3 separate regions of the Homo sapiens genome follow, and all the other regions are linked to region 2. The links are contacts of gene promoters, found by promoter capture Hi-C in blood cells and fetal thymus (Javierre and others, 2016). All regions are on one chromosome and are shown on one strand. Each heading gives the region's core, a stretch centred on a gene start or on the middle of the fragment in contact. The rest is flanking DNA. Distances are from core to core; before and after follow the strand shown. Region 1 overlaps UBR2 (ubiquitin protein ligase E3 component n-recognin 2). Region 2 holds the start of PEX6 (peroxisomal biogenesis factor 6). Region 3 holds the start of PRPH2 (peripherin 2).

Region 1 (2,700 bases), core at 9-2,508, 330 kb after region 2:
AAATAAGGATATGGATGATTCAAAAAAAATTTTTGTTTTGGAAAATAATTAGATTAGAAACATATATAAAAGATAACACATTATATCAATATCAGAATACTACATATATAAAGACAAGGACCAATCTAGGAGAGAACAACTGCCCAGTGGGACTGAGGTAATAACAACCATGTGGTATAAAAAAATCTGTCTGGCACTTGTTTTTACTGTCAGACACAAAAGCAGTAACAATATATTCAAGTTAGGAAAACACAATACATTTCGGCCTAGTTTTCCTGTGTATAGATACAGACAAGAATATTTTGCTTGTACTATAAAATACTAAAATATAAATAATAAATGTCTTCAAACCTACCCTTTGCAGCATGGACTCTGACCAGGCATATCCATTATGTTCCACAGCCCATTGCAGAATTGTTCCCATGATGCACAACATGACATCTGACTGCAAAATGTTAACCAGGCTTGCAAACAGAGGGCAGAATGGAGGCAACACCGGAGGTGGGAGTGCTGAAAATACAGTTGTTATTATTGGTTTCTTTTACAGAACATGCTTTAGAAACTATCTCTTTGTTACTTTTGATAGTTTTAACTCAAAGAATATTCATTAACACACACCTTAAAGCTATTATTTTACATTCTCAAGGTCAAATGCATAAAAAGAGCCACGAAAGTAGCAGCAGTACAGAAGAAAGTCTATCTTTTCCCCTAGAAAGGTCTTAAGATCTGAGATAACATCAACCCAGAGGACTTAGCACAAACTATTTCTGTGTTAACATATTTATTATTCCTCTGAATAGGAGGTTATTCACTAGGAAAGCTTACATTTAAATATTCATTCCACCAAGGACAATCATCATAGTTAACAGAAAACAATGTTTAACAAGCAAAAAAGATGGGCAAGACATTTTCAGAAAGATTAAAAATACCTGTATCTTCTCTATTTTGTCTTTTCAATTTCCGTTGCGCTTCTTCTGCCTAATAAAAAATAAAGTTATTTGGACCGGGAATTAGTAATGCCCACCACCACACCTGGTTAATTTTTATATTTTTAGTAGAGGTGGGGTTTCACTATGTTGGCCAGGCTGGTCTTGAACTCCTGACCTTGTGATCTGCCCACCTCAACCTCCCAAAGTGCTGGGATTACAGGCATGAGCCAATGTGTCTGGCCAAGGATGAACATCTAAAATCAGAAAATAACACAACAGAGGCCGGGGCGTGGCAGCTCACACCTGTAATCCCAGCACTTTGGGAGGCCAAGACAGGTGGATCACCTGAGGTCAGGAGTTCGAGAGCAGCCTGGCCAACGCGGAGAATCCCCATCTCTACTAAAAATACAAAAATTGGCTGGGCGTGGTGGCACACACCTGTAATCCTAGCTACTCAGAAGGCTGGGGCAGGATAATTGCTTGAACCTGGGAGGCAGGGGCTCTAGTGAGCCGAGGTCTGCACTCCAGCCTGGGTAACAGAGTGAGACCCTATCTCAAAAAAAATAAAAAATAAAAAAGATATCTATCTTTAAGTTCTAGTCCTCCCCCAAACGGATACATCAAGGTTAATTTTTTTTTTTAACTAAAAGAATCTCCAAACGAGTTCTCTATTACTTTAAATTAGAAGGGAAACATGTACTTAAATAAGTACAAACTTATTTAAGTTTGAACTCTATGACTTCATCAAAAACTAAATAAAAGCTTTATGTTTAAGTTTTATTTAATGCTGTTTATTGAAAAACCATTTTAAGAGGAGACTGCTAAAAGGCAGATTTTTTTTTTTTTTTTGAGATACGGTCTCACTCCCATCATCCAAGCTGGAATGCAGTGGTGCAATCATAGCTCACTGCAGTCTTGACCTCCTGGGCTCAAGTGATCCTCCTATCTCAGCCTCCTGAGTAGCTGGGACGAGAAGTGCATGACACCATGCCTGGCTAATTTTTGTATTTTTAGTAGACATGGGATTTCAACATGTTGGCCAGGCTGATCTCGAACTCCTGAGCTCAAGCGATCTGCCCGCCTCAGCCTCCCAAAGTGCTGGGATTACATGCCCCACCAAAAAGGCAAAATTTAATTACCTAGGAATGATTAGAAAAGCTCCATGAATCTCTATGAAAAAGTGTTAAATAATACCAATTCTGAAATGTGCATAAAATGGATTAACTGATTATAATACAGGTTGAAAATTTGTTTTAAAAAACTATACCCATATACGTAAAGGTATGTATTATATAGATCGTATATACATATGTACAAAACGCTAGGGGGTAACTCCAAAATGTTAGGTGAGGGTATTTTAAGTAATTTCTACTTTCTTCTTTATATTTTATATTTTCCAAATCCCCTACAATAAAAATGTATCATTTTTCAATCTGCAAAAGCAGTAAAAAAGTTGTTTAGGAAAAAAAAATTCAAGCCAGATACAGTGGTGCATGCCTGTAATCTCATCTACTCAAGAGGCTGAGGTGGGAGAATTGCTTGAGCCCAGGAGTTTGAGGTTGCAATGCTCTATAATGGCATTGTGAATAGCCACCAAACTCTAGCCTGGGCAACATGGTGAAACCTCATCTCTTAAGAAAAACAATGCAATCCTTCCCTGCTACATTTTTAATTTTCCCAATTACCTTGGACTGTTCTGCCCTTGAAAAGTGATAGAAATACAAGTTGAACTCTTTGGCACATTCTGGTTTCAGTTCATACATGCCTCGTC
Region 2 (2,700 bases), core at 141-2,640:
CTCTACAAAAAATAAAAAATTAGTCCAGGCGCAGTGGCTCATGCCTGTAATCCCAGCACTTTGGGAGGCGTAAGCAGGTGGCTCACTTGAAGCCAGGAGTTCGAGACCAGCCTGACCAACAGGGTGAAACCCCGTCTCTACTGAAAATACAACATTAGCTGGGTGTGGTGGCACACACCTGTAATCTCAGCTACTTGGGAGGCTGGGGCAGGAGATTCTTTGAACCTGGGAAGCGGAGATTGCAGTGAGCTGAGATCGTGCCATTGCACTCTGGCCTGGGCAACAAGACCGAAACTCCGTCTCAAAAAAAAAATTGGCTGGGTATGGTGGCGTGTGCCTGTGGTCCCGGCTACAGTTACTCGGGAGGCTGAGGTGGGAGATCACTTGAGCCTGGGACGGTAGAAGCTGCAATGAATGGGGATCGTGCCACTGTACTCCAACCTGGGTGACAGAGTAGGACCCTGTTGCCATAAAAAAGGAAATGTGGCCTACCACTAGCTGAGTGTCTTGTACAGAACAGTGGAGGTGAAGAGAAGGATGGAATCTAAATAACAGCACACGCAGGAAGTCGACTGTTGGTGTTATGCTGACAGAAGCCTTGAACTCCTTTCCTTCTGCCTGCTCTGCTGCCTGCCCCGCTCTAGGATAGAAAGTGAATGGGTTTCCGATCTGCAAGGATTTGGGGGGGGGGGGTGAAAGAAAAGCTGTTTTGTCTTCAACTTAAGTTTGGTGGGAGTAAAACAAACAGAACAATGAACAGGGCAAGAAGTCCTGGAACATGGGTTTTGTGCCAGATGTGCTGGAACATGTGTGGTGGCACCAAGCACTCCAGGGCTGTATGAATCACATCTAGTAATTCACTCAGCAGCCACTATATACCTATAAGCAAGTGTGAGACAGTTTTCTAATCCTGCTACTCCCTCCTGCAACCTTTCCTGCAACCCTCAAACCTCAGTGCTCACAGTTCCACAGGGGAAGCTGCAGGAGCTCCGCAGAGGAGCGGACTCCTTCCGAAACATTTCACCTAGAGCTCCCAGTACTGGGCCCAGTCATCCCGAGCATGCTGACTGTTCATTTATCAGTCAATAAACTGTTACGTTCATGCCACGGGGAAAAATAGTTAAGAGAACATTACTTCCGTAGAAGGCAAAGATAAATCCCTTAAGCACAAGTTCAAATGGCGCATGGGTAAACGCTACGCAACCGCAGCGATGAAGGTTACTGCCTATCGAGGCACGACGCAGATCAATCCGAGGCGCAGCTAACCCCCTCAGAGCAAGTTCGCGGCACCCGACCCCCCTCCCCTTTTCCTCTGGCCTCCCCTGACGGAAGCGGAAGCGGCCCTCGCGCACACTAGTCGTCTGGCTCTCTGGCTCCGGAAGCTGCGCTCCTTCACCCTCCTCGTTGGTGTCCTGTCACCATGGCGCTGGCTGTCTTGCGGGTCCTGGAGCCCTTTCCGACCGAGACACCCCCGTTGGCAGTGCTGCTGCCACCCGGGGGCCCGTGGCCGGCGGCGGAGCTGGGCCTGGTGCTGGCCCTGAGGCCTGCAGGGGAGAGCCCGGCAGGGCCGGCGCTGCTGGTGGCAGCCCTGGAGGGGCCGGACGCGGGCACCGAAGAGCAGGGTCCCGGGCCGCCGCAGCTACTGGTTAGCCGCGCGCTGCTGCGGCTCCTGGCACTGGGCTCCGGGGCCTGGGTGCGGGCGCGGGCGGTGCGGCGGCCCCCGGCGCTAGGTTGGGCACTGCTTGGCACCTCGCTGGGGCCTGGGCTCGGACCGCGAGTCGGGCCGCTGCTGGTGAGGCGCGGAGAGACCCTCCCAGTGCCCGGACCGCGGGTGCTGGAGACGCGGCCGGCGTTGCAAGGGCTGCTGGGCCCAGGGACTCGGCTGGCTGTGACTGAGCTCCGCGGGCGGGCCAGACTGTGTCCAGAGTCTGGGGACAGCAGTCGGCCCCCACCCCCGCCCGTGGTGTCCTCCTTTGCGGTTTCTGGCACAGTGCGGCGACTCCAGGGAGTTCTGGGAGGGACTGGAGATTCACTAGGGGTGAGCCGGAGCTGTCTCCGTGGCCTTGGCCTCTTCCAGGGCGAATGGGTGTGGGTGGCCCAGGCCAGAGAGTCATCGAACACTTCACAGCCGCACTTGGCTAGGGTGCAGGTCCTAGAACCTCGCTGGGACCTCTCTGATAGACTGGGACCCGGCTCTGGACCGCTGGGAGAGCCCCTCGCTGACGGACTGGCGCTTGTCCCTGCCACTTTGGCTTTTAATCTTGGCTGTGACCCCCTGGAAATGGGAGAGCTCAGAATTCAGGTAGGATAAAGGACTGGGGTCAGGAGTGCTTCCTCTTTCTTATACCCTCTTCTCTGTCTTAGGTAAATTGGAAGATTTAGGACTCGTGCCCCATATCATCCCGGACTTTGAACATAATGTTTCTAGCCGGGCGCGGTGACTCACGCCTGTAATCCCAGCACTTTGGGAGGCCGAGGCGAGCGGATCACTTGGGGTCGGGAGTTCGAGACCAGCCTGACCAACATGGAGAAACCCCGTCTCTACTAAAAAAATGTAAAATTAGCCGGGCGTGGTGGTGCATGCCTCTAATCCCAGCTACTTGGGAGGCTGAAGCAGGAGAATCGCTTGAACCTGGGAGGCGGAGGTTGCGGTGAGCCAAGATCGCGCCATTGGACTCCAGCCTGGGCGATAAGAGTGAA
Region 3 (2,700 bases), core at 26-2,525, 260 kb after region 2:
CCATACCCAGACAATTTTTGTATTTTTAGTAGAGACAGGGTTTCACCATGTTGGCCAGGCTGGTCTTGAATGCCTGACCTCAAGTGATCCACCCACCTTGGCCTTCCAAACTGCTGGGATTACAGGTGTGAACCACTGTGCCCGGCCAAGTTTGGTATTTTATTGTTGTTTGGATTTGCATTTTCCTGCTTATTACCCAAGTTGAGATCTTTTCCAGATTATTGGACTTTTCAAGTTTCCTAATTATGAATTGTCTGTTCCTGGTTTTTGCCTATTTTTCCAGTTGATTATTGGTCTTTTGATTGTGAATTTTTGTTTATTGTGAATTTGTGAGACTTAAAACATTTTTGCATATTAATTCTTTTTTTTTTTTTTCCAGACAGAGTCTCACTGTCACCCAGGCTGGAGTGCAATGTGGGGATCTCAGTTCAGTGCAACCTCCACCTCCTGGGCTCAAGCGATCCACCTGCCTTGGCCTCCCAAAGTACTGGGATTACAGGCATAAGCCACCATGCCTGGCCACTGTATATTACTTTTTAATTTTACAAGTTGCAAATGTTTTCTCACGATCTGTCACTTTCTTTCTTTCCTTCCTTCTTCTCTTCTTTTCTTTGTCTTTTTAAAATTTGAGACAGGGCCTCACTCTGTCACCCAGGCTGGAGTGCAGTGGCACGATCATGGCTCAGTGCAGCCTTGAACTCCCCAGGCTCAGGTGATCTTGCCACCTCAGCCTCCAGAGTAGCTGGGAGAACTACAGGTGCATGCCACCATACCCAGCTAATTTTTTTTTTTTTTTTTTTGTGTGTGTGTGTGTGTGTGTGGAGATGGGGTCTTCCTATGTAGCCCAGGCTGGTCTTGAACTCCTGGGCTCAAGTGATCCACCCAACTTGGTCTCCCAAAGTGCTGGGATTATAGGCGTGATCCACTGTGCCTGGCCCTGTCATTTCTTTTCTCAGAGAGGATAACAATTTATTTGTCCTACAGAAAGTTTTAAATGTTGAAGGAGATTGGCCTGGAAATATGCTTTTGGGGAGCAACACGGTCTGAGCCAGACATCCAGATACAGCCCATTCTTCTGGCCAGTCTTGCCCTTTGCTCCTGATTCTCCAAGCTGTACCCAGAGCTTTCTGGTTCAGCATGTACCTGGAGGCTGCTTTTGACCATGTTTTGAGAGTGGCATGGCTTTATCTAATGGGATGAACCTGGCTAAAGAGATTAGCAAAATGTCTTGTGGATCCCACTTTTAATCTGCAGCGTTCAGGCTGCCCCTTCTTGGCTGGGAAGGGCGCTGAAGAAACAACGCCCAGGACCAGGACTATCCCCTGCTCAAGCTGTGATTCCGAGACCCCTGCCACCACTACTGCATTCACGGGGATCCCAGGCTAGTGGGACTCGACATGGGTAGCCCCCAGGGCAGCTCCCTACAGCTTGGGCCATCTGCACTTTTCCCAAGGCCCTAAGTCTCCGCCTCTGGGCTCGTTAAGGTTTGGGGTGGGAGCTGTGCTGTGGGAAGCAACCCGGACTACACTTGGCAAGCATGGCGCTACTGAAAGTCAAGTTTGACCAGAAGAAGCGGGTCAAGTTGGCCCAAGGGCTCTGGCTCATGAACTGGTTCTCCGTGTTGGCTGGCATCATCATCTTCAGCCTAGGACTGTTCCTGAAGATTGAACTCCGAAAGAGGAGCGATGTGATGAATAATTCTGAGAGCCATTTTGTGCCCAACTCATTGATAGGGATGGGGGTGCTATCCTGTGTCTTCAACTCGCTGGCTGGGAAGATCTGCTACGACGCCCTGGACCCAGCCAAGTATGCCAGATGGAAGCCCTGGCTGAAGCCGTACCTGGCTATCTGTGTTCTCTTCAACATCATCCTCTTCCTTGTGGCTCTCTGCTGCTTTCTGCTTCGGGGCTCGCTGGAGAACACCCTGGGCCAAGGGCTCAAGAACGGCATGAAGTACTACCGGGACACAGACACCCCTGGCAGGTGTTTCATGAAGAAGACCATCGACATGCTGCAGATCGAGTTCAAATGCTGCGGCAACAACGGTTTTCGGGACTGGTTTGAGATTCAGTGGATCAGCAATCGCTACCTGGACTTTTCCTCCAAAGAAGTCAAAGAGTGAGTGGCTTCCAGTCCTGGGGTCAGAGCTATGAATATATTGGGGACACTGAGGCTCAGGCCTCTGACCAGCCCCTCTCCCCGCACCCAGTGCCTTTTCCTCTCCATCGGGTGCACAACTTATTGCTGCGTATGTGAGGGTGTATCAGGTGGAACCATATGAAATTGCTAATATTCTACCTCTTTGACCCATAAAAAATGACAACTTCATAGGGTTCAACCTAACATTGGCTAAGGTGGTAGGAAGGTATCAATTTATATAAGCTGTTTGGATAGGAGCCCCTTGGGATGAAGAGCCAGGCAGCAATGTGTGTCCACTTTATACAGAGGGATGGAAGTCATTCATAGATCACAAACACTGAGGTACTATTTGGCTATTTGTCCCATTCATTCAAAGTAGATGGATTCAGTCCCAGAAGTTTAAATTTCCTAGTTAGTTCCCTTGTTTTCCAACCTTTCAACCCTGAGCATCCATTCCCAAGATGTTTGTCTGGATATGTTGGAAAGAGCATAGGAAGGGGAAGTCATGAGATCTAGGGTGAAGTTTTGGTTCTGTTGTTCAAGGTCTTGTGACCTTGGGCA

Evidence for each region. The method cuts DNA at HindIII sites, captures the fragments that hold promoters and counts their contacts. A CHiCAGO score of 5 or more calls a contact.
Region 1: a contact is called between a fragment that was not itself captured here and the fragment with the promoter of PEX6 in region 2, in 1 of 17 cell types (total B cells). The highest score is 5.5, in total B cells.
Region 3: a contact is called between the fragment with the promoter of PRPH2 here and the fragment with the promoter of PEX6 in region 2, in 2 of 17 cell types (non-activated CD4 T cells and neutrophils). The highest score is 7.6, in non-activated CD4 T cells.

Annotation. Positions count from the first base shown.
Region 1 is chr6:42,650,301-42,653,000 of GRCh38, reverse strand. UBR2 (ubiquitin protein ligase E3 component n-recognin 2) reads right to left here. Exons shown (of 47, transcript NM_001363705.2): 23 at 2,615-2,700; 24 at 930-978; 25 at 356-510. Among named protein-coding and RNA genes, the nearest start is that of PRPH2, 71 kb to the left of the region's middle. The HindIII fragment of the contact is 871 bases long and covers 823-1,693 here.
Region 2 is chr6:42,977,871-42,980,570 of GRCh38, reverse strand. It overlaps PEX6 (peroxisomal biogenesis factor 6), which reads left to right and starts at 1,390. Exons shown (of 17, transcript NM_000287.4): 1 at 1,390-2,302. The coding sequence starts at 1,421. It overlaps LOC124900215 (a long non-coding RNA gene), which reads left to right. Exons shown (of 2, transcript XR_007059580.1): 2 at 1-29. RefSeq lists silencers at 588-784, 1,439-1,818 and enhancers at 979-1,028, 1,189-2,130. The HindIII fragment of the contact is 10,844 bases long and covers 1-2,700 here.
Region 3 is chr6:42,721,172-42,723,871 of GRCh38, reverse strand. It overlaps PRPH2 (peripherin 2), which reads left to right and starts at 1,275. Exons shown (of 3, transcript NM_000322.5): 1 at 1,275-2,118. The coding sequence starts at 1,538. The HindIII fragment of the contact is 19,648 bases long and covers 1-2,700 here.